Regions from separate parts of the Homo sapiens genome. Here all the other regions are linked to region 6. Evidence: promoter capture Hi-C in 16 types of primary human blood cells and fetal thymus (Javierre and others, 2016). All regions are on one chromosome and are shown on one strand. The core of a region is centred on a gene start or on the middle of the fragment in contact, and the rest is flanking DNA. Distances in the headings are between cores, read along the strand shown. Region 1 has its middle 90 kb from the start of MIR4786. Region 2 has its middle 47 kb from the start of MIR4786. Region 3 overlaps LOC150935 (a long non-coding RNA gene). Region 4 has its middle 110 kb from the start of MIR4786. Region 5 overlaps LOC150935 (a long non-coding RNA gene). Region 6 holds the start of HDAC4 (histone deacetylase 4). Region 7 has its middle 170 kb from the start of LINC02991.

The links. The method cuts DNA at HindIII sites, captures the fragments that hold promoters and counts their contacts. A CHiCAGO score of 5 or more calls a contact.
Region 1: a contact is called between a fragment that was not itself captured here and the fragment with the promoter of HDAC4 in region 6, in 1 of 17 cell types (M1 macrophages). The highest score is 5.1, in M1 macrophages.
Region 2: a contact is called between a fragment that was not itself captured here and the fragment with the promoter of HDAC4 in region 6, in 4 of 17 cell types (M2 macrophages, fetal thymus, M0 macrophages and 1 more). The highest score is 7.6, in M2 macrophages.
Region 3: a fragment that was not itself captured here is called in contact with the fragment with the promoter of HDAC4 in region 6 in 2 of 17 cell types (M0 macrophages and M2 macrophages); the score reaches 8.0 in M0 macrophages.
Region 4: a contact is called between a fragment that was not itself captured here and the fragment with the promoter of HDAC4 in region 6, in 3 of 17 cell types (M0 macrophages, M1 macrophages and M2 macrophages). The highest score is 10.6, in M0 macrophages.
Region 5: a contact is called between a fragment that was not itself captured here and the fragment with the promoter of HDAC4 in region 6, in 1 of 17 cell types (M0 macrophages). The highest score is 5.9, in M0 macrophages.
Region 7: a fragment that was not itself captured here is called in contact with the fragment with the promoter of HDAC4 in region 6 in 1 of 17 cell types (M0 macrophages); the score reaches 7.5 in M0 macrophages.

The regions. Positions count from the first base shown.
Region 1 is chr2:239,851,304-239,854,249 of GRCh38, forward strand. No RefSeq gene overlaps it. Among named protein-coding and RNA genes, the nearest start is that of MIR4786, 90 kb to the right of the region's middle. The HindIII fragment of the contact is 7,455 bases long and covers 1-2,946 here.
Region 2 is chr2:239,894,927-239,898,102 of GRCh38, forward strand. It overlaps a transcript of NDUFA10 not described here. Among named protein-coding and RNA genes, the nearest start is that of MIR4786, 47 kb to the right of the region's middle. RefSeq lists enhancers at 967-1,467, 1,468-1,968. The HindIII fragment of the contact is 7,976 bases long and covers 1-3,176 here.
Region 3 is chr2:239,786,700-239,789,577 of GRCh38, forward strand. The region is part of intron 2 of LOC150935 (a long non-coding RNA gene); the gene reads left to right. Among named protein-coding and RNA genes, the nearest start is that of MIR4786, 150 kb to the right of the region's middle. The HindIII fragment of the contact is 5,294 bases long and covers 1-2,878 here.
Region 4 is chr2:239,831,209-239,834,105 of GRCh38, forward strand. No RefSeq gene overlaps it. Among named protein-coding and RNA genes, the nearest start is that of MIR4786, 110 kb to the right of the region's middle. RefSeq lists an enhancer at 161-676. The HindIII fragment of the contact is 5,213 bases long and covers 1-2,897 here.
Region 5 is chr2:239,763,595-239,766,740 of GRCh38, forward strand. The region is part of intron 1 of LOC150935 (a long non-coding RNA gene); the gene reads left to right. Among named protein-coding and RNA genes, the nearest start is that of MIR4786, 180 kb to the right of the region's middle. The HindIII fragment of the contact is 3,440 bases long and covers 1-2,982 here.
Region 6 is chr2:239,399,569-239,402,487 of GRCh38, forward strand. It overlaps HDAC4 (histone deacetylase 4), which reads right to left and starts at 1,452. Exons shown (of 27, transcript NM_001378414.1): 1 at 1,410-1,452. HDAC4-AS1 (HDAC4 antisense RNA 1) reads left to right here and starts at 1,868. Exons shown (of 2, transcript NR_135575.1): 1 at 1,868-1,968; 2 at 2,507-2,789. RefSeq lists silencers at 1,101-1,270, 1,281-1,720, 1,741-1,860, 2,131-2,400 and an enhancer at 2,531-2,660. The HindIII fragment of the contact is 12,493 bases long and covers 1-2,919 here.
Region 7 is chr2:239,744,618-239,747,736 of GRCh38, forward strand. No RefSeq gene overlaps it. Among named protein-coding and RNA genes, the nearest start is that of LINC02991, 170 kb to the left of the region's middle. RefSeq lists enhancers at 1,618-2,817, 2,716-3,119. The HindIII fragment of the contact is 930 bases long and covers 1,138-2,067 here.

The sequences.
Region 1 (2,946 bases), core at 221-2,720, 450 kb after region 6:
GAGTCTGCTAATGGAGATTTATTGTGTTCCTTTGGGGGTGCCATGCTTTCTTGCTTTTTCATGTTTCTACATTGATATTTGTGCATCTAGTGGAATAGCCACTTTTTCCAATTTTATGGAGTAGGTTTCATAGGGAAAGACATTTTCCTGTAGATATGTCCTAGGATGTTGGCTTTGGTTCTGGGTGGACTCAGTAGTGCAGCTGTCATATAGTTTCCTCATATCATATAATAATCTTCATCATCAAGGTCTGTGATTGCCTCAGTGGTGTAGGGTATGGGAGTTTGTGATGGTAGTGGTGTGGTTTTGCTGGGGGAGGGAGTGCTGAGCTGGTTGTTGGGCTGGGCACATACGGATATGGAGGGCCAAAAAGCTGTCCATTGGGTTCTCTGGAAGCAAGAAAAGGTGAATTAAATGCAAGACTCAGGCATGCGTGGGCATGGCTGGCCAGGAAACTGTGTATGTACTGTCTCTTTAGGGAAACAGGGCTGCTGGTGGACTGGATATTGGGACAGGTACATGTGGATGCAGTAGGGCTAGGTGGCTTTATAGCAATCTACCCAGCAGGGCAAGGTCATCACAGGGCTGGCTGTTGATCTATGCAGAGACATGCATAAGCTCAGAGGGCTGACTGGCTAAGCATTTCAGGTGCATGTAGGTGAGGTGACCAGCCAGCTGTTGGGTGACTGCTCTGCTGTGCAGGCCCACCTGTTCCCTGGGTGGGGGGGTGGTGGGGATGGTGTGCCACATGGGTTCAGATGCTGGGTGGGGTCTCAGGTGTTCTGTCTGGGCTAGGCTCTGGGAAGTTGGGTTCAAGGTACTGCAGGCACCTGTGTGAACATGGTAGTGACAGTAGGGCCTGAAGGATGGATATAGTTGGTTGCTACTCATCCCCAGGACAGGGCATACCCTATTAGTAGGTTCAGTTTCAAAATGGTGTTGAGTTGCAGCAGCTTAGGTAACAGGGTTGGGGGCACTCAGTTCAGGCTCCTACTCAGGTAATATAACTGCAACAAGTCCCAGCTACTCTCCAAACTGGATTTGGGGCCTGTGAGGACTGGGGGCCCTTCCCGTAGCAAGGATTGCTGGTGTTTGTGAAAGCAATGAGGAGTGCTGTGGATCTCCATTACCCGTAAGAAGAAATCGGCCCTGACTCTGAGCCAGTCCTGGGCGGGGGACACAGTGTGGCAGAAGCAGGATGCCTTGCTCTCGTCTTTACGGTGCTATCCTGGGCTTCTGTGCTCCACAGACTGTGCCACGGCCCTGGTGCTCTCCAGTGTACATCCTCAGTCATGCTGGTTGAAATACAGTTGCTTATTTGTTGTTTTGGTACTTTTTGTGTGTGTTGTGGGGCAGGGGATGCTGCAGGTAACTCTGATCAGCCATCTTGCTGACATCCTCTGAAAACTCTTTTTTTTCTATTACATTTTTGCGATTTTGATTAGATTTGCATTGATTTTATAAGTTAATTTGGGGTGAACTGATACGTTTACAACAAGGAGTCTTTCCCTCCTATGACATGGCATCCTTCTCGATTTTTTCTTGTCCTCTTGTCTGTCAGGAAATCTGTATGACTTTCTCCATAAAACAATTCTCAGGCATGTTTCTAAGGACATATTTTTGTAGGGATTTGAAACACAATCTGTTTTTGTACTATAATTTTTTAATTGATGTCTACTGGTGCATAGGCAAGATTTGGATTTTCACACAGAGAGCTCATGTCAGCTACACCGCTGAACTCTGATTAATTTCATATTTGTCAAACAATTAGCACAAACACTTTTGAAAAATAAAATCTGATTGGGAATCCCAGTAGCAAAATGGATAAAAGTGTCAAGCAGGCCTCTCATGCTGCCTTACTTTCTTCACCATCCGGCTGAGGAACAGGCCATTCCTTGCTGACCCAGCTCCTTCCAGCTCAGTATGAGGATGAGAATCCTGCAGCCTCCTCCCCTGATCAGGCGGAGCCTGGCTCCACCTGGGGAGAGTCTGGGACCTCGGCACCTGCAGATCAGAGGCCCTCCCGCTCCAGTCCACCAGCACACAGGGAAGGGAAGGGAGACCCGGGGAAGCCACGTGCCTTCCCCATGTTGCCCAGCGGTTAAAAAGGGCGCAGGGACTACCCAGGGACTTTGGCTTCCAGGCATGACACAACCTTGCCTTCCAGGCTGGTCTCACTTATAGGCATCCCTGTCAACCAAGAACATTCTGTTCAGAAAAAGTTATTTTTTCCTACTTTTTTGGTCCTGAAAATTAATGTGGTCTCTTTTCTGATTTTTACCTCGGGCTCTCCTTCATCTAAGAATCAAACCAGAGCTAGATTCCCAACTGTCTATCAATCTAGTCTGATTTTTCCCTTGAAGAAGAGAGGTCCTTTCGCACAAGTTGCTCTTTGATCTTATGATAATTTTACCATTTTCCATGACTAGATGTCCCCGTTCTGAACAGGCTCTGGGTGGCAAAAGGGATCTTAGGTTCCCTTGACAACCTAAGCCCATACTGATCCCATTGAGTTTGATGTCAACTACACTGGTACCCGAGCAAAATGTCCTGCTGTGTTAGGCTCACAGCTGGCTCTGTTTCCCTTGCCTTGAAAAGGAAATTGGCAAAGGAAGTACAAGGCTGACAGTTTTATTCCAGTGTACATGAAAAACGTTTACTTGCAGCCTTCCACTGCCCTGGTGTTTTGTCACCAGACCTGAGGCCATTTCTCCACCTCCTCCTGCTGTTTGGCCTGTGAGCTGGGACCCCTCCAAGGTGCAGGTGCATCCAGTATTAGAGAAGCCAGGCATGTGTGTGCACACACCCCACGCTCATTTTTGACCCCAGAGCCTTAAAGCTCATCGGCAGCATCAAACTCCTTTATATGCCCACCTATATGTAGCCCCTCCCTTTGCTGTGTCTCTGAGGGAGAATCCAGGCTCCCATGAGGGTGGCCGAGCCTGC
Region 2 (3,176 bases), core at 287-2,786, 500 kb after region 6:
AAGTCTCTTCCCACAACCCTGACCCCTTCTTCAGGAAGCAGCTCAGGTAAAGACACCCCATCCACCCAGTCGCCCAAACCAGAAACCCAGAACCCAGTTTCCCAGTCTCTCCTTCACCCCCACATCTATCTTAGCCGGGCACTGGCTTTCAGTGCCCTGTAGAGAAGAATCTTGCCTTCACCCTCTCTTCCTTATCCCCACCATCCATCACTGACCCAGTCCACGTCACATCCTCCCTCTCCAGGATGCCTGCCAGGCCTCTGCCCCAACTCACTTACCTATTCCCAGGCACTTAGGAGTCTTCTCCACACACAGACCATTCTGAGAACAGGGAGCCCAGTGGAGAACTGAGTAGGCTGACCCATCTGTGCTCCTGGTCTGCTGGGACCTAGAGACGAAGAGGACAGTGACCACAGAGCATATGAGTGAGGAGGGGAGCCCGAGCTCTGTGCAGGTGTAGGTGGGGCTTTACTCCACACTCATAGGTTCTGAAGCCAGGGCAGCAACTTCAAAAGTGATAGGTTAGGGGAGAAACTATAAAATGAAAACACACAGTCCCTTGTTCACAAAACAGGGAAAACTGCTCTTAACAGTGTTAAAAAACAAAACTTTTCCTTTTCCTCTGTTCTCTCTAATAATTTACCATTGTTATTTGCTACTTAAGGTCATCCTAAGTAAAGAAAATTTCAATTTTTATGTTTTAGCTGAATGTTACTGTTCATTTTATATTGTGCAATGTCAGTTTTAAATACAAATATAAAAGCATTAGATCCCCATGCAGAAACACAGAGATTACACGATTCCTATTTTGTAGCTCACATATGTATGTATATTTAATTTTTACCTTAACAGTGGAAGTGCTGTGCAAAACTAAACCAAGGGTTTTGATTTCACTTCTCGATACTGGCCGTGCTACTGCCTTCTTGACACTGCCTGCAGCTTACTGGTGAAAATGGAAGAACTGAAAGAAGGAACTGTGGCTTTTCCCGTCTTCTTTCCGTCCATGCATTGTTTTCAGTGTAAGTGCTTGGCTAATACACGAAAGTAGAATAAGTAAGAAAAAGTACAATAGGGTCTTTGGTTGTTGGTGTTATTCACAAGGCCACTGCCTTCTTTCTACATTTGAAGTGGACTCATGTGGAAGGTGTGGCTTTCCCACAGACTCAGTGGCAAACACACACAGTGACCTGTTCCTGGCCTCGAGTCCTGCTGGTCTCCCGTGCATCCTAGGGTCACTGGAATTCTGTGCTCACTGTGTCACCAATGCCGCGTGTGAATGGAGAGGCAAGGAATGGCAGACGTGCATATCATGCAAATCTCCTGTGCTCCTGCCCCTGCTGTGCAGTGCTTCCAAAACACAAGTTCAAAGGCAAAGGTATCAAGATTCAGGGCAGACCTGGCCGAGCATTAAGCCCAGCACAGAGCCCTTCTTAAGTGCAAGGCCCCATGAGATTGCACGCCTGTGAAGCTGGCAGTACCCTCGTCTTAACTGCAATTGACAGGAAATTCAAGGGTAGAGGAGCATGTTAAACACCACCACAAGGACACAGCAAATCCAGGGTTGGGGGCACTGCAGCCAATGACCCAGACACTGCAACCAGCCAGTGGGGCCACGGAAGGGAGGAAAGAGGCTGAAACAGGTTCCATCATCGGAAATGCCAACTTGTTTGGCTCCTAATTCAAACAAACCAACTGTAAAAACACATTTCTGGATAATTAGGGAAACTTGGATATGAACTTGTATTTGATGCTATAGAGGTAAAGGAAGTCTTCTTAGTTTAGAGTGAAGGATAGTCATATGTGTCGTGGTTACGTGGGGAAAATGCCCGATCCGTGAAAGATGCAGACCAAGTCATCTGCAAGTCAAACAACAAGATGTTTGGGATTTGATGTATTTTAGAAAAAAACAGCAGGGGAATAGTTGGCACAAGATTGGCAAAATATTGAAAATGTTTGAATCTCAGAGGTTCATCATTTTATTCTACTTTTTAAAAAGTTTTTTAAATGTTCTATAACAGAAAGAAGGAAAATAACATATGTATGTGTGTATGTGTGTGTACTTATTATGTATTCCTTAAACAAATCTTTTCTTTTAGTTTATAAGGAATTATATTTTCAACACTGAATTAATTACCTTATTTTGCAATAAATTAGTAAGGAGTTAATGAAGACTGAACTATGATCCACACATGAGAGCTTTGGCATGGAAATCACTTTTTATCTCAACTTCGTATCCCTTCTTTTCATTTCTTCGAGCAATATGGAAAATTTCCCAGCATGTAGGACACACTATAATGTTCTTTCTTGAAGATGTAACTCTATACATTGCAGTAGCTAATTATTCAAGTTTTTATTTAGTAAAAATTCAAGAAAAATCCTATTTTTATTAGAAATTCTATCACTAAAATTATTTGTGATAAATTGATTCTTCCCATGACTCTTTAGGGAAAAAATACATTTTTAGATCATACTTTTTCTTGAAGTGAAAAAAAAAATTAACATGCACGTACCACACACATGTAAATTAGAGACAAGTTTAGACACAGGAGTAGATTGGATTTGCCTAAATATGGCCTCAGATTAATAAAACCAAATGGGGAAAAGCTGACTATTTTTGTTGTTGTTATTGACAAGTGTCTGTTATATTTTGAAAAGCATCCATACTTGATGAAGTGCTGGAGGGCCGAAGAGAGTCCCAGGCTTCCGGATTCCAGGCCGGCAGCTTCCCTCTGAATTCAGTTCCTCTCCTGGGCCCTCCTCCTCCTCCTCTTCTTCTTACCTAACTGCCTGTCCCCAGGCCTAAAGCCACCAAACCCTGCTGTTGGGAGGCCCTGAAGACTGATGGCCGCCCTGGAGGTCACTCAGCCCCCAGAGACTGCAGCACCCAGGCCAGTAGTGGGAGTGAGCCAGGTTCACCCCTCCCTCTGCCATCCCAGCCTCAGCTCCAGAAGCACGCGCATCCCCTGGGGCACACAGCCCCTTCCTGCATCCCTTCAGTTCCTTCCCTTCTGGGATCCCTCTTCCTTTCATCAGCAGGACACTGGGAGAAGGAACCATCCCTACCAAGAAAACTGGAATGGCTTTGGTGTCTGGCTAAGCTGGAATATAGAGCCAGGCTGCCTGCTCTGTGAGAAAACGGAACTGCAGGAACCAACCGGGGCCCAGCTCACAGATGG
Region 3 (2,878 bases), core at 313-2,812, 390 kb after region 6:
AAATGGAAAGCAAATAGTTAGACTTTATTGGTAATTGTGTTAAATGTAAATGGAATAAAATTAAAGAAGAAATCGAACACATTAACTTGGTGAAAGCTCTAGCCATGTATGAGCTTTAATTTTCAAATTGTATGGCTTTGCTTTAGTATATCTCAATTTGTGGGAAAAATCTTTCGAGGGAGCACCTATTTTTAATTGGATAAATTTATACTCTGTACCAGAATGGAATTAAATTGAGAAGTCTTACAGTTTTGCATGATCTAAATATGGTGAGAGATTCAAAAGAACCATAAATAGACACAATTTATTTGACAAGTTTTATCCTATCTTTGCCAAAAAAAATGTACTCTGAATGGAGGCATAAAGATAGTATCTATGGAAACATTTGGCCTGAAATATTTACACACTTATATATGAGAAATAGAATTAAGATTATCCTCCACTTAGCAGAAATTCTGCTGCACTTACTTGATACCTCAGCACGGTTAGAGAGAATGTTTTCTCTAACATACGATGGGCAGCAGAGAAGAGTCCATTGAAGGTGTCTATCATTTTAAATTTATTAATGATAAAGCAAAAATTTAAAGAAGATTGTAATTTTATGAAGAGATTAAAAAGATGAGAGATAAACTATGAATTTCATGAAAAGAGAAATGGCTAAGTAGCAGATTCAAATATAGTATATGAATATATATCAAGAATAATCTGTTTGGCTATTTTTTCAGTGTTCAGATATCCAATATAAAGATTATTTTGCTTTGATGAACATGAAAATACATTATTTTTAATAGGAATGTTATTTTTGAAATTTATTTATTCACGGAGCTATTTTATGGATTCAGTAATGTAATGTAATCAATTTGCTGGTTAATAAATACATATTTCAAACATTACATATTTTTATCATTTCTACTGTCCTCTTTACGCTGAGGACTGTCCTGTTTGAACAGTGGTTACTGTGCCTTATGTCCCTGGAGACCCAGCAACCAAAGCTCCATGGGCCACTGGAATGGCAGAGGCAGATGTAGATGAGCTGACCTCATCTACATCTACACGGGCAGTGTCACCATGGCGAGGCTGCCCATCTCAGCCACAGCACCACGTCATTAGAAAAAGCAATTAGAAATGAAGTCAGGGTGACTGAGGCAGGTCTGCCCCATGCACATCGGCAGGCTGGAATAAGATCCCTTCTTGGAAAGCTCTGGTCATGATGCAGGATTGCACCCACTCCAGCCCCCAAGAGTGTTTCTGCAATTGGAAAGGCCAGTGTGGCCAGGCAGGATGACAGGGTGTCATGAAGGTTGCTGCGGTTGCAGCCAGAAAGCACCACAGTGACATATGGGATCTTGCCTGTAAGCTCTACAAGATTTACTAGATCTTGTTTCTTTATTATCAAAACCCAGCACCTCAAGGTATTTATAAAGAAGGCAAGTCAAAGGTAAAGAGATGCATTACCAAGAATCTGTGATTCCAGAGGTCAAAGTTCATCTTATCACTCACAAGTTCCTCTATTATTTGAAAAGGTTACTCACCCTACTTGGAATATCAAGCAGCAGTTGATTGGGTTTACAGCATTTTCTACCTTTACCCTTTGCAAACTGTCTGGATGCAAATGTCAAGATTGAAATGCCCAATAACTTGGATCTCTGGATCCAACAAACAAGAACGTAGTGCGATATTTTTAAATTCTGACTTGAATTAAAGTGATGGATGGGTCCTCTTAGCATGAACATGTGGTTATCCTTTCTCCCTTCACTTTCCCTTTCTAATAAATATCTCCAGCGTTGGGGAAGAGGAAAAACACCTTGATATTACCTACTGCTCCCATGAGTAGTCATTGGCTATGCTAGCTTGTATTTATTCTATATCAACAGAGCCACTGTTGTTAAAAATAGCCTGAGGAAATCAGTTAAGATCTAAGCATTCACGTGACTGAAAAGCCAAGGATCAGGCCATCGAGCTACTTTAATTTAGTTGCTGTGCTTGAATTTTCATGTTGTAAAAGTGTTATTGGTAGGTTGGTTCAGGTTCTTGAGTTTGTCACAAAAAGAATTTGAGAGCAAGTTCAAAGTAAGAGTAGGCAAAGAAGTTTATTGCAAAGCAAAGGTACACTCTGAGAGGCAGGGTGGACCTCTCAAAGGGAGAGACAGCAGCCAGTGCCTTAAGAGGAATTCCCCTTATGGGAGCTGTGTATGAATATTCATAAAACACTGGTGAGGTCAGGTGTGCAAAGGCGGACCTGCGGCTAGCGCATGTGCTCAGAATCTACATGATCTAACACGTATTCCATGCATAATTAGCATATGAAATCTCCACCTGTGGATGTGTTTGGACTACTAAAATGAAGAAAAGGTCACTATAAGCTAAACCTTGAGCCTAGCACATGAGGGACCCTGGAGAAGTCCCTGGCCACCCCCCACAAGGCAAGAATTTATAGCTAATAGCTTCTTGGGCTTTTGGTGGTGATTGGCTGGAGATTGAGGAAGCTACATCAGGAAAAAGGGGTTTTGTTCTCTTTCCTGGGCCAGGGATCAGGAACAGGTAACCATCTGGCAGGCGGCTGGTATCCTGCAAGAGCGCTTACCTTGCAAAAGAGTCAGGTGCTGATGCATGAAGGTGCAGGGAAGAGTCTTCCAGGCTTCCCACAGGGAGACCCGTCAGTATGGCCTCCTACCCTTACTCCTGCCTCATTAGTCGTGTTGGGAATTTAACCCCACAGGGTTCCTGCTGAAACCACTTGAGGCTAGATCTCTGTGTCCTCAGTGCCTAGGGACACGGACGTTGGAGGGAATACTTGATGTCCAGCACGAGGATGGCCTCAGGAGAGCAGGATTACCTCCTGGGGGTGTGCCACAGCCAGCCTCTGTGTGGTCTTTGT
Region 4 (2,897 bases), core at 23-2,522, 430 kb after region 6:
CCAAGGCTCACTCTCCTCAAACCATTGTTTTATGCCTCCCTGTTTTCCAAGCCATTTCCTATTTTCCTGCTGATATCATGAAAACATAAAATTTTTCCGCACACGCTAAGTGCCTAGAATGGCAGCCAGCTGGTCTAAAGCTGGAAAGGGCCATGAGAGGATCAATGGCCCACAGGAAATGGGCGAGGAGGGCTCCTCGATGGCTGCTGCGGCTGACAATAGGCTCTGCACATGCTCTGTGACACATGCCCCCTGGGGGCCCTAAGAAACCAGCTGCTGACCCTTCCGGGCTGGGAGGAATGTGGGGAAAGTGTAAACCGGGGGATGAGAGATAATGGCCTGGCCCCATGAGCCCAGCCCTCCTGGCCAGCTTTGCAGAACAGCCCGGAGGGCTCACATGCTGACTGCAGGCCTCCCTGCTCCCTCAAGGGAACTTTCCCTCCGAGACGGAGCCTCTGGGCTGGGGGTGGTGCACGCCTCCCTGCAGGTATTAGCGGATGCAGATACTGACTGGTGGCCTCGGTGGGAGGCGCTGCTGTTCTGCAAACTCCCAGTGAGGGTGACGTGGCTGGTCTTGGGGGGGTCACGGGCTGCTCGGTTATCCTTAGTGAAAACAGTCACTCCAGGCACAAAGCTCTGTCACATATAAACTATCATCCCATGAGGGAAGCAGAGAATTCTCCATATTGCAATTTGAGAAAATGAATAGGGAAGTAAGTAACTGTGGAAATTCACAAACCAGGTCATTTATTCACTCAACAAATATCTCTTGAGCCCTGCTGATATGGTTTGGCTGTGTTCCCACTCAAATCTCATCTTGAATTCCCACATGTTGTGGGAGGGACCCAGTAGAAGGTAATTGAGTCATGGGGATGGGTCTTTCCCATGCTGTCCTCATGACAGTGAATAAGTCTCATGAGATCTGATAGTTTTAAAAAGGGGAGTGAATAAGTCTCATGAGATCTGATCATTTTGAAAAGGGGAGCACAAGCTCTTTCTGTTTGCCTGCTGCCATCCATGTGAGACATGATTTGCTCCTCCTTGCCTTTCACCGTGATTGTGAGGCCTCCCCAGCCATGTGGAAGAGTAAGTCCATTAAACCTTTTTCCTGTACAGCCAGGCCCGGTGGCTCATGCCTGTAATCTCGGCATCTTGGGAGGCTGACGCAGGTGGATCACTTGAGGTCAGGAGTTCAGAGTGTGTGCAATAACATATCAGAAGCAAGTCAAAGGAAATCAGGTCTCTGACAAGCAAGCATAAAAATTAAAAAAAAAAAAAAAAGACAGAGAAAGGAAAACCAGGAGGCCAGACTAGCACCCCACGGTTCAGTGAGATGCACTGGGAAGGGAAGGTCTTCGCTTTCCATTGTTTTCATCACAGAAGCGTAACGCTTGGTGCACACTTGGTAAATAACTAGCATATGGTATCACCAAGTCTGACATGTGTGTGCAAAGCCAGGGAGCCTCAGATGGGAAGCACCCCTGTGATTCCGGGACAGGATCGTCAAAGGAAAGGGAAGGAAGGGGCCTCGTGTTACCCTGGGGCAGGGGCAGGGGCATCCTGAGACGCCCAGGGCAGGGAGGCCGGCAGGACCCAGGAGAGCCTGCAGGAGTGAGTGGGGAACCCCACACATTTGCTGCTGCTCTCCCTGCCTCTGCTGTAAGTCAAGGTCGTCTGCAAACCAGCCACTCAGTGCCCAGGAGCCTGGCAGTCCCTTGCTAGTGCTCTCCTCCGGGGAGACAGCCTCAGGCTAGTACAGGACAGATTCCCTGTGTCCTGTGGTTGGCCTGGGATGGGAGGATCCCAGAGTTACTGGGTGGCTTTCTCTGCCTTTAGCTACAACAGGAGGAACATCAGAGCATTGACCTTGGTGTTAAACTGGGGAGGAGAGAATAAGATGGAGCAGCCCGGGCAGTTGGCCCCTCTGAAAGGCACCAGCCTCATCGAAGTTCTTCCAGTTCCGAGGAAAGCGGGAGTACGGAGGGTCACCAGCTCCACCCAGGTCCACGGCGAGTTAGTACAGCCACGGAGGAGAGAGTGGGGAATCCACAGCAGATCATGGGCTCCAGGGCTGAGGGACACCCAGGTAAGCACACCCAGAAGAGGGCACAGATTGGGAGCAGGCACACGGGGAGGATCCAGCTGGTGGCAGCCCCTGGAGAGGAGGCTCCCGGAGGAACATGGCTGAGAGCTTTGTCAGGAAGAGAGGAAGGTGAGGGGCCTCACGGGGGACATGGAGAATGGGGCCAGGGACAATGGCAGCAGAGGAGCAAACGAGAAAGGCCATCCCCATCGAGCAGAGCCGGGAGGGTTGGCAACACGAAAGTCCAGGGAGAGATGGCCCTGGGCGAAGAGAGTAAATGAGCAGAGGTGGAGGCAGTGGACAGACCCCAGCCCTTCCGGGAAGCTGGAGATGAAGATGCTGTGGGTATCATAGTGTCTGCCCCACCCATGGCTGTCCCTGGCCGGCAGAGGGGCAGCAATGAGCAGGCCATGCTCCCAGGTGGCTTGGGGCAGCTAAGATCTGTGGTCATGCGTGTGGGTGCCTGTGAAGAAGGGGAAGAGGGGGAGGAGGTGGGTTGGGGAAGGGAAGGGCAGAGACACCATACGCCTAGGCTGGTTGCTCGGAAATCGAGTTCTCCTCCACCCTGGGAGGGACATGGTGCCAGGACCATCAACCCCACCAAGGAGATGGCAGGACCAGTCCTTCTCTCCCTCCTTCCCTCCCTACCGCAGAGGAAGTGACAGTGCTGGTCATGGCAGGCCAGTGGGCCCCCCGTAGAGCCCGAGTCAGACTCCGATGGCCGCTGTCCACTATGTGGGCACTCAGGACATCAGAAAACAGGTGGCCATCTGCAGAGTATTTCAGAGCGTCTCCTCTGAGCTAGTCGAATCTG
Region 5 (3,146 bases), core at 13-2,512, 360 kb after region 6:
GGAAAGTGGGGCCTGTCAGGTGACAGAGGTGGAGAGAGGGTGGTGCAACGGGAAGGGCTGCATGGCAGGATGAGAAGGTGGCAGCAATGCCAGCGATCAGACGGGCTCTGCAGATTTTGCCCTTAGAGCAACTAGAATTTCTCTTTGGCTGAAAGATGTTTGTAGTGAGGGAGAATCTGCCCGAGGACACTTCTGCTTGTGTGCGTTTCTTTTAGGCATAACATCAGCTCCCAGGGTGCAGGCAGTGCTTTCTCTCCCTAACATGGAGCAGGTGGCCCTTCCTCTGAGGACGGCCTCAGGCACCATCAGACCCGTCAGAGAATCACAGCCTGGCGCCTGCCAAGCACACCGCCACCTCCTGGAACTTGCAGTTCTTGTCTTACTTACAAATGATACCAAATTCCTGGGCAGCCCCCTGTTCTCCACATTTTCTGGATTTGTGCGGCCTGCTTTGCTTTGTACAATGTTTTTGCACACTGTGTCACTTGCCCTTCATGGCAGCTCCTGTGAAGGGTGAGAGCTTCTTCTGGAGACCCTCTGTGACCTGCCCATCGGGGCCCAGTGAAGGAGCCCCATGGATCCTGGGCACAGAGGGCCTGTTGTCCAGCTCACAAGTCAAGAGGCAAGAAAGGAACTCTGCAGCTCCCTGGCATTCTTCCCAGGTCCCCAGCAAGGTCATCCTAGGTGTGCCAAAGTCAGAGCCCACAGAAGTGACCCCACAGGTAAAGTCTGCAGGTATAGCCACCTGCTCTTTGTGATCTGATTGAGTCCAATGGGGACCTCCTCATACACACACGTCCACTGGAGAACATGGGGCCCTCCTATCCAGAGACAGCTGCAGAAAGGCCTTTAGCAAATAGCATATGAAGTTGAGATGCTTCACCGGTCACTTCTTCCTCCTATGCACTGTACTTCCTTCTTAGATGCCCCAGTTGCTAAAAAAAAAGATCCATCCTGTAGGGTTAGGGAGTACCCAGGTGTGGAAATGAAGGACCCTTGGCCCTTTCCACTGCTGCCTGGGGGCAGAGCAGGCCCTGCCATCAACTCAGGCTGCAGCTGCAGGTGCACACGGAAGAGGCTTGAGGTTCACCGGCCTTTCAAGGGTAGGTGGTAACAGACAAAATCTTAGGCTGTGCGAACGTGAGGGACAAAATACATGGCTGCGTGGAAACTAAGATGATCTCACGATCAGAAAAGGGGTCTCCATGCCATGCAGCGGGGCCCCGAGCATCACATGCCACTCACCCAAGCTGGGAAGAAAGTGCAGTGATTAACCCTTTCCTAGATGAGGAAACTGAGTCTCAGGGATGTGGAGTGGCTCAGGAGAATTCATATGTGAGGTTCAGAGCCAGCAGCCTGGCCTGGGACTTCTGAATTTCAAGGGTTGACCTCTTTGCAGGCTCTAGGCCTGGCCATCCTAAGTGGAGAGTGGGGACGGCTGTTCTTCCTGCCCTCCAGCCTGGTGCTGATTCCCCCGAACTGATCTTTCTCCTCCTGGTGTCCTCTTGCTCACCCCTCCTCACTTCTGCAGGCTCCCCAAGAGTCAGGCAGGGCCACAGGCCCATGGGACTTCACAGCATGCCAGGTAACATTCAGCCTTAGCTCTTGACCTGGCCAAAGGGAGGGAGGCCTCTCGAAAGGGTTCTTCTCTCTAGTGAGAAACAGCTGACCAGCATACCCCACCATCACTGCCATGACGGGAGGACTGCCCAGACATGTCTTCCCAGAGCAACGTGGCCAGCTTCCCCTCTCTCTCCCTTTCTGTCTCTGTCTCTCAGCCCCATTCACCCCAAAAGTGCAGACTGGTGAGCTCAGTGACCGATTGTTGTTATTTCAACCAAGTTCAGGCGTCATGTGTTACACAGCAGTAGATGCTCAGAGCACCTTGTCATCCCCACGTGGCAGATTCAAGTTCCTCTAGCACTTACCGAGTGCCTTCTGCATGCCGATTCAGAGCCTTCACACTCTCTTGCCCAGCAGCCCAGGGCAGTCGGTCTCCTTTGGACACGCAGCCTACCCTCGTGGGCAGGGTCGTTTCACACTGCCGCTCATCTCCTGGGATGTGTTTTCAGAGTGTGTCCTTGCAGGCATCCCCATGGGAAGCAGGTTTGAATGGGGGGTGCACAGGGAGGTACCTGGGGAGACAGGTTGAAGCGTCCGCTCCTAGGGAGCTTTGCTTTATCGTCAAGTGTCCTTGGTTTGGGTGAAGGGACAGGATTTCAAAGCAGCCTTTCCCTCCGTCCTGCTCCCTGCCTCTCAGATGAAGATGGCCTGCCAACTGCTGGCCTCTGTAGGTGACCGTCCCAGGGACAGCCGCACCCCATATGGAGCAGAGAGGCTGGAGGCTGGCGGGCCTGTGAGTACCGTGCCACCGAAACATGTTACTGGTGTCCAGATGTCTCTCTCCCCACACATCCTGGAGCTGTTTGAGGGCAGGGCCGTATCAGAGTTGCCTGTGCACTCTCACACCCAGCGCTGTGCCCTGGGGACCTCGCCAGCACCCAGAACCTTTTGTTGGAGAAGCTGGCGGTCATGGTGATGGGAGGTGGAGAGTGTAGTCTGACTCTGGGCCGTGCTTGAGTCCTCACGTCCATGTGCGCTGTGGCCACCTTAGCACAGAAGCACACCCTGCAATTCTAAGTGGGAAAACTTGCGTGTTCTGAGTCATGCTGAGGGCTGCAGGGTTCGAGGGAGGAGGCTCCTTCCCACAAAGGCAGGGGTGCCCTGCAGTGGCCAACTCCTGGCCTCCAGGTGTCCGGCCACCCTGCCTCCCCCTCCTCCCTGGCTTTCCGTCAGTTTCCCATCTGCTCCCGCAGACTCATCTGCTGGGGACAGCCAGTTCAATCGAAAGAAAAGAAAGGCAGATGCTGTAGGTGACATTTTTTTGGCAGTCTCCAGAGAAAACGGGAATCTGGACTCAGGAGAAACGCTGTGTGCAATGGAAGACGCTGGTGCCCACTCACCTGGGTCAGGACTCAGGGAAGCTTGAGGGCCTCCCACGAGACAGCGTGCACTCAGGGGCATGGTGGGGGCTGCGTTGGGACCAGTCTTTCCCCAGGGGCTCAAGGAGGGCATGTCCATATTTTCATATTAGTTTAACTAACTTCATGCTGGCCATTGGCAAAGATAAACCAAAAAAAAAAAAT
Region 6 (2,919 bases), core at 202-2,701:
CAAGGTGCAAACCTGCCAGTATCCCCCCAGTCCTGCTGGGCTGGCGCTGGGCCAGGACTGTTTACAGGCTTACTCCCAGGCCTTAACTGCTTCGGTGATTTGTGGGAATAAACAGAAAAGCCTGAACAGAGAAAAACGGGGCGGCAAAGTGACTGCACAGGCCCTTTCCTCCCTCACGGAGAGCAAGCAGAACTGCTCTCAGCAAGCAATTAGGTAGGTCTCTACAGTCATGCAATTAGGATTTAGTGAAGAAAGTCATTAGTTTTAAAATAACTTAAGTTTAATTTCTGCAACGCTTTATTTGAAAACTGTGTCACAGCAGGTCAATTTACAACATGCAATAAAGAAAACACTCATATCAGCTGCCTCAAGTTATTACAAATTTTTGATGTGCATTAAATGAGTACACTGGGTTCCACCCCCGGCCTTTCCAACTGATACGCACGGTCTCCTCCTATAACAGTGTCAAATAATTCAACGCTCAATGTAAATACGAGATAATTTGCTTATGATTCCGTGGTGTGTTTTCGCAACGCCGGCAAACGCGGATCCCACCCCCGAGCGGGACCGGGCCCCGTCTCGGCCTGCTGGCGCCCTGCGGGCTGAGCCGAGCGGGTCCCGGGCAGCCCCCCGCCCTCCCGCGACCCCCCGGGCGCTCGCAGCGGCGACGACAAGCGCGGGGCCGCGGACCCCCGGCAGGGACGTTTTTCTGCAAACTCACAGCATTTGACAAAGTTACATAAACGGCGCCCGGCCGGCCCCGGCGCCCGCCCGCCCCCGCCCTCACTCCCGGCGGCCCGGAGCCCACCTGCTCGGGGGGCGCGGGCCCCGCACCGGGAGACGGCGCCGCTGCCTGCCGTGCCCACCCCCGCGCCCCCGCCCCGGCGGGCGAAGCCGCCTCGCGGCGCGGGTGGAAAGGTCCAGAAGGGGCCGGGCGGCCCTGGGGACCGGCGGGTCCCACGGCGCGCGGCCAGCGCTGGCCCCCGCCTCCCACGGCCGCGCGCGGGGCGGGTGTGGACCGGCGGCGTCCACCTGCCGCGGGCTCCAAGGCCTGCAGGCTGCGCGGGGCGCGGGGCGGGCGGCGGACAATGGCCCGCGGGCGCCGGGCCGGGGCTGCGCTTACCGCGGCGGGCGGCGGCGGCCGGCTCTAGCCCTGCTCCGGCGCTCCGCGCCGCATCTCCTCAGCCTGCGCCGCCACCCGCCGGCGCGCGGGCTCGGGCTCGGGCGGCGACAGCCGGGACGCGGCCACGGCGCCGCCGGGGGCCCAGGCTGGGAGGCTGTTCGGGCGGCGGCGGCGGCGGCGCGGGCGGGTGCGCGGGCTCGGGCTCGGGCTCGGGCGGCGGCGGGGACGGTGCTCCGCGGCGGCGGCCCCACAACCTCCCCTCCTCATTCACAAAAAATTGACCCACGTTGAACCATGATGCTTCTCCCCACTCCAGCGTCGAGCCAGGCGGCGATAGGCCACCCCGCACGCCCGTCAGCCGGCCCGGCCCCGCCCAGCCAGCCGGCGGCTCGCCAACCATTGGCTGCGGCAGCCTTGCGTCACCTCCCCTTGCGGGCCCCGCCCTCCCGCCTGGTTTCTAATGAAGAGCTCGTCAATTACGGCTCGGCCCCGCCTCCCGCCCGCCCGCCCCGGGCGCCTGGCCGGCCTTCCATTGGCCCGCTGAAACCTGCGCACAGCCCGTCTGCTCCCACCCCTCGCCCAGCGGCTGCTCAACCGCGGGGCCGGATGCCCTATGAGCGGCAGAGAGGCTCCACCCCTGCCCGCCTCCCCGCACGCGTCCTGGACCTCATTGGCTGCTGGAGCTGCCAATTCTAGAGGGTGGGGCGTACCAAAAGACGCTCCAGGCGCCAGCCGCTGGGTGCTTCGCGGTTGAGGAGGCGCAGGGACCGGGGGCCAGTAGTGGCCGTAAACACGGGCCCCGGCCGTGTCCGGTCGCACTCGGTAGCCCGCATGGCTGCCTAGCGGTCAGCACCGCATGTCTGCGAGCCTAATTCGCGCTTAGAGGGCACACAATGGGGTGCAGGCTAACGCGGGGAGCCGGCCAGGCCTCGCCGCGGCGTCCATCTTGGATACTGGCAGTGGGTCACGTGGTGCTGCGTGCGCACGGAGGCGCAGGGCGGCCCGGTCACTGAGTGCGCAGGCGCCGTGGGCCTCGCCCTGCCCCGCGGCGGGAACGCGGCCGTGAGGGTGTGGGGTGTAGGTCCGCCAGGCCTGCAACGGCTGCCGAGGGTCGTGGGATGCGCTCGCCGCGTCCCTGCTCAGGCGGAGGGAGCCCGGCCCGCCGCCAGGGTCTCGAGTCCGGGTCCAGGCAGGCGTGGAGGTGGCGGGAACGGCGCACCGCCCGGGTGGGCGTTGTTTTAAGGCCGCAGGGCTTGGGAGGCTTGTGTTGAGTTACAGGTCGGCCCGTAGATCCCCGGAAGCGCCTTTGGTTGCCAGCAGGTGTCGGCGAGGGTCTTCAGTGGCCACCCTCCTGGTGGTGATGTTTCCGTTTCTTTCCAACAGGAGTATGACAACTTTTCAACTTGAGTGCACACACTGTCCCCGGAATCCCGCGTTCCAGGGAGGAAGCGCCTTTGACAGCGCGCGCCGGTTCGTGGGGCCCGACGGCGTGGGCCTGTGGTTGCGGACCTGGCGGAGATGCGCGTTCGCTTCGATTGTAGGCCATTCCTTTTAGGAGCTGAGAAAGGATCCGTTTTTACAGCATTCTCGACCTGTGATTCTTGGTGGGGGAAACTAGTTATGTGGATAAAAATACAGTTAGCAAAATAAAAATGCCAATTTTACATTTCCTTAAATATCTCATTAATAATTAGAAAACTTTGGTCATTGCAAGAAATGCTTAGGCTAAACTTAGAAGGAAAGGAATGGTGAATTAGAGAACTTTAAAACAAGATACAGCTGAAGAAAAGGAGAGC
Region 7 (3,119 bases), core at 353-2,852, 350 kb after region 6:
CAAGATACATATATATATAATACAGATATATGCATATGCACGGAAACAGATTCAAAGAATATAGTCATCATTTTTCTGGGAAGCAATGATCATATATAAGTTTAATGTAGTCATGTTTATCTATATACCAATATCTGTATCTATCGCTATACAAACATAAATCTGCACACCTGCTGTGTGTCTGGGGATGTCAGGCACAGGCAGTGCTGTCACTTGGGGGCTTGGCAGAGGCTCTCTGGCCTGGGGCTGTGCAGGGGAGCCTGGAGAGAGTCAGGCTGAGGCTGTGGGACTTGTCACAGGACAAGAACACCCAAGGACTGCAGGGTCACTGTCACAAGGCACATCGGAAGCCTCTCTGACTCGGAGAGGACTTGGAGCATCTCTGCCCTCCCGTGAGGCCCATGAGAGACAGCACTGAGAGTCTGGCCGTCTGGAAGCCAGGACCAGCTCTGCCCGGAAGTCGTAGAGCCAGGTCAGCCTCCGCCTTGCTCCCTGCCTGCGCTGCGCCTTTGCGGCAGCAGCAGCTTAGAGGAGGAAAGGTGGCTCCGAGCACCCTCATGGCTCCCGAGCGCCCGAGCCCAGGGACTTGGGGGACAGCATCGGCGCTGAGTCCTCGAGGCTGGCACCACCAGCTTCCACTTTTACCCTCCGCTCTGAAGCCTGTTGGTGGGCACAGGGTCACTTTCCTGTCCGCGGGCTCTTCACAGTCGGCACATTCAGGGCCGACTTTTTAATGACTGTGCTTTTGGCCACAGCAGTGGTAACAGCAGGGAGTATTTATGGAGCCCCCCTGTCCCTGCACTGTTCCAGGGGCCTCCCACACATGAATACACTTGGTCTGCCCATGCCCCAGAAGGCCTGAGGCCCACCCTGGCAGGGGCTCCCAGCCCCAGCTCCCTGTCTCCTTCCCCCTCCATCCCCTTCCATATTGATCAGGTGTGTCCGTCCTCCAGGTGGTCACACTCCTCAGGGCGCTGGCCCATCCCAGCCCCAGAGCTTCAGTCCGATGGGCTCCGTCATCACTCTCCGGCTGATGGGGGATCAGGCGTGGACTTCAGACCCGATTCTGGATGAGGAGATGTGGGCGTGGGGAGGGGCCAGTCAGAGAAGCCCCAGAAGATCTCCTCATTGTTCCAAAGCTTCAGATACGATTGAGTGAGAATAAGAATGATAGCCGCAATGAATCGTAACACCGCCACTGTGTCTACATCCATGAGTTCATAAGAAAACAAAAAGATAATTGGTCAACTTCGGCTGCAGCTGGAGAACCACCTCATTACTCTGAACACGGATAAGTAAAGGATAAAAATGAAGCCTTTACTGACTTCTCTATGCAAACCGTCCCTCAGGGCAGCTAAGTTGGTATGAAAGGGAAGTTTGTTTTGGTGGGAGTGTTCCAGCTGATAAACACAGGAGCAAGCCTAGAGTTAGGATATTGTTGTTTTGCAGTCCCCGAGGAAGCCATGAACCGAGGCAGCTAATCAGCCGCTGCACACATCCCAGAGAAAGCAGGACCCCGCGTGCCTCCAGATGAAAGCCAGCAGCAGGGTCTAAGCGCAGCCTCCCCAAAATACCCGGCGGAGCCTGTCGACAGCTTTCAGGAATTACAGGGGACAGGGAAAAAGGTTGAATGCCACCCTTGGGATGTATTCAGCAAAACTCAGAAAATGAGAAATGATCCAATTTCTTTAACAACCACCACCACAAAAACAAACAAATAAGTAGTAAAACATTTTAAAAGTTAATGTAAAAACAGATGTGGAAGGAGACCTGCAGGCTAAAACGTATACCCCAACCAATCACAATGCACGGCCCTTAACTGCGTCCTGATTCCAATTGTTTTTAAACCTGTAAAACAAAGGATAGACCATCAGGAAAATGTGAACCCCGATACTGAGGAATGAGTGTGCATTTTCCACAGGTGTGGGGGGCGGGTTGGGGCATGAGGAGAGAGGAGAGGAGGGTGGACAGGCGGAGGGAGCACCACCCACATGCCGAGGTGGGGCCTGGCGCCCATTCTCCGGTTCTCTCCACTTTTGTCCATGTTTGAAATTTGCCATCACAAAAAGCTTCTTTTTTGTTTTGTTGTTTGTTTGTCTAATAGGTCTCCTGGGCAGAGAGCCACTTCCCACTTCCTAGGGCATTGTCCCGGCTGGAGCTGCAGCTGTGGTCTTGCTCTAGTTCTAGGATGAAGCAAAGCCACGGGGGAAGGTGAGGTAGGATGGAGAAAGGACTCGGGGTTCCAGTGCACCCCTGAACCGGCACAGCCTCCCGGCCCTCCTGCTGGGAGTTGGGGGATTGCTTCTAATGGACAATGGATGGACTGTGTCTGATGTCACCCCATACACGTGGAACAGGGCAGCTGTCTTGTGTTCCCAGCCTCTGGTAAGCTCCTTGAGGGCACAGACGCTGTCTGGTTCATCTCTGCACCCCTGACAGTGCCCCGCTGGGTGCCTGGCGCGGTGCCCACTGCTTAGTAGACCCTGGAGTTGTTGGGGAGAAGGCGCTTGGGCCATGGTAGCAGCAGGTGGAGGCTGGGCTTGTGTCCAGTGTTCAGGAAACTCGGAAACCTCCAAATGTGTGACCCCGATGGGATTTTGATTTCTTCCCATCTCTTGAGCCTAAGGCACAATTGTTGGGAACCTCCAAAACCCACTGCTTAGGGAAAAGCCCGCATCCAAATTTCTGCTAAGCAGGAGGGGAAGGTGCCGGGGTGGGTGTGGTCTCGCAGTGCCTGTCCCCTGCTGCTCTGGCTTGCTGCCCTCATCCCTGTGGCCGCTTCTTCCCCAGCATCCTCAACAGCACGTGTGCTCACAGCCCGGACCCCGCCCTGATGGTCTGACTGCACGGCTCCCGCGTCCTGACTTCCTCCCACTCTCCCCTTGTGCGGAGCACCTCTGCCCACGCCCAGTGCCCGGTGCTTGCCCACAGCGGAAGCCCCGCCCTGGAGCTCACCACACCCCAGCCCTGACCCTACAGCAGCCCCCACCAGTGAGTTCTGCCATTAGAGTCAGAATGTCTCTTCCCTCTCGTGTGACAGGTTTGCATGCTACTCAGAATTTAGTTCTCCAAGGACCCCTGAATCACAGTCAGGGCCAGGCCCAGAGCAGGCCCAAAGC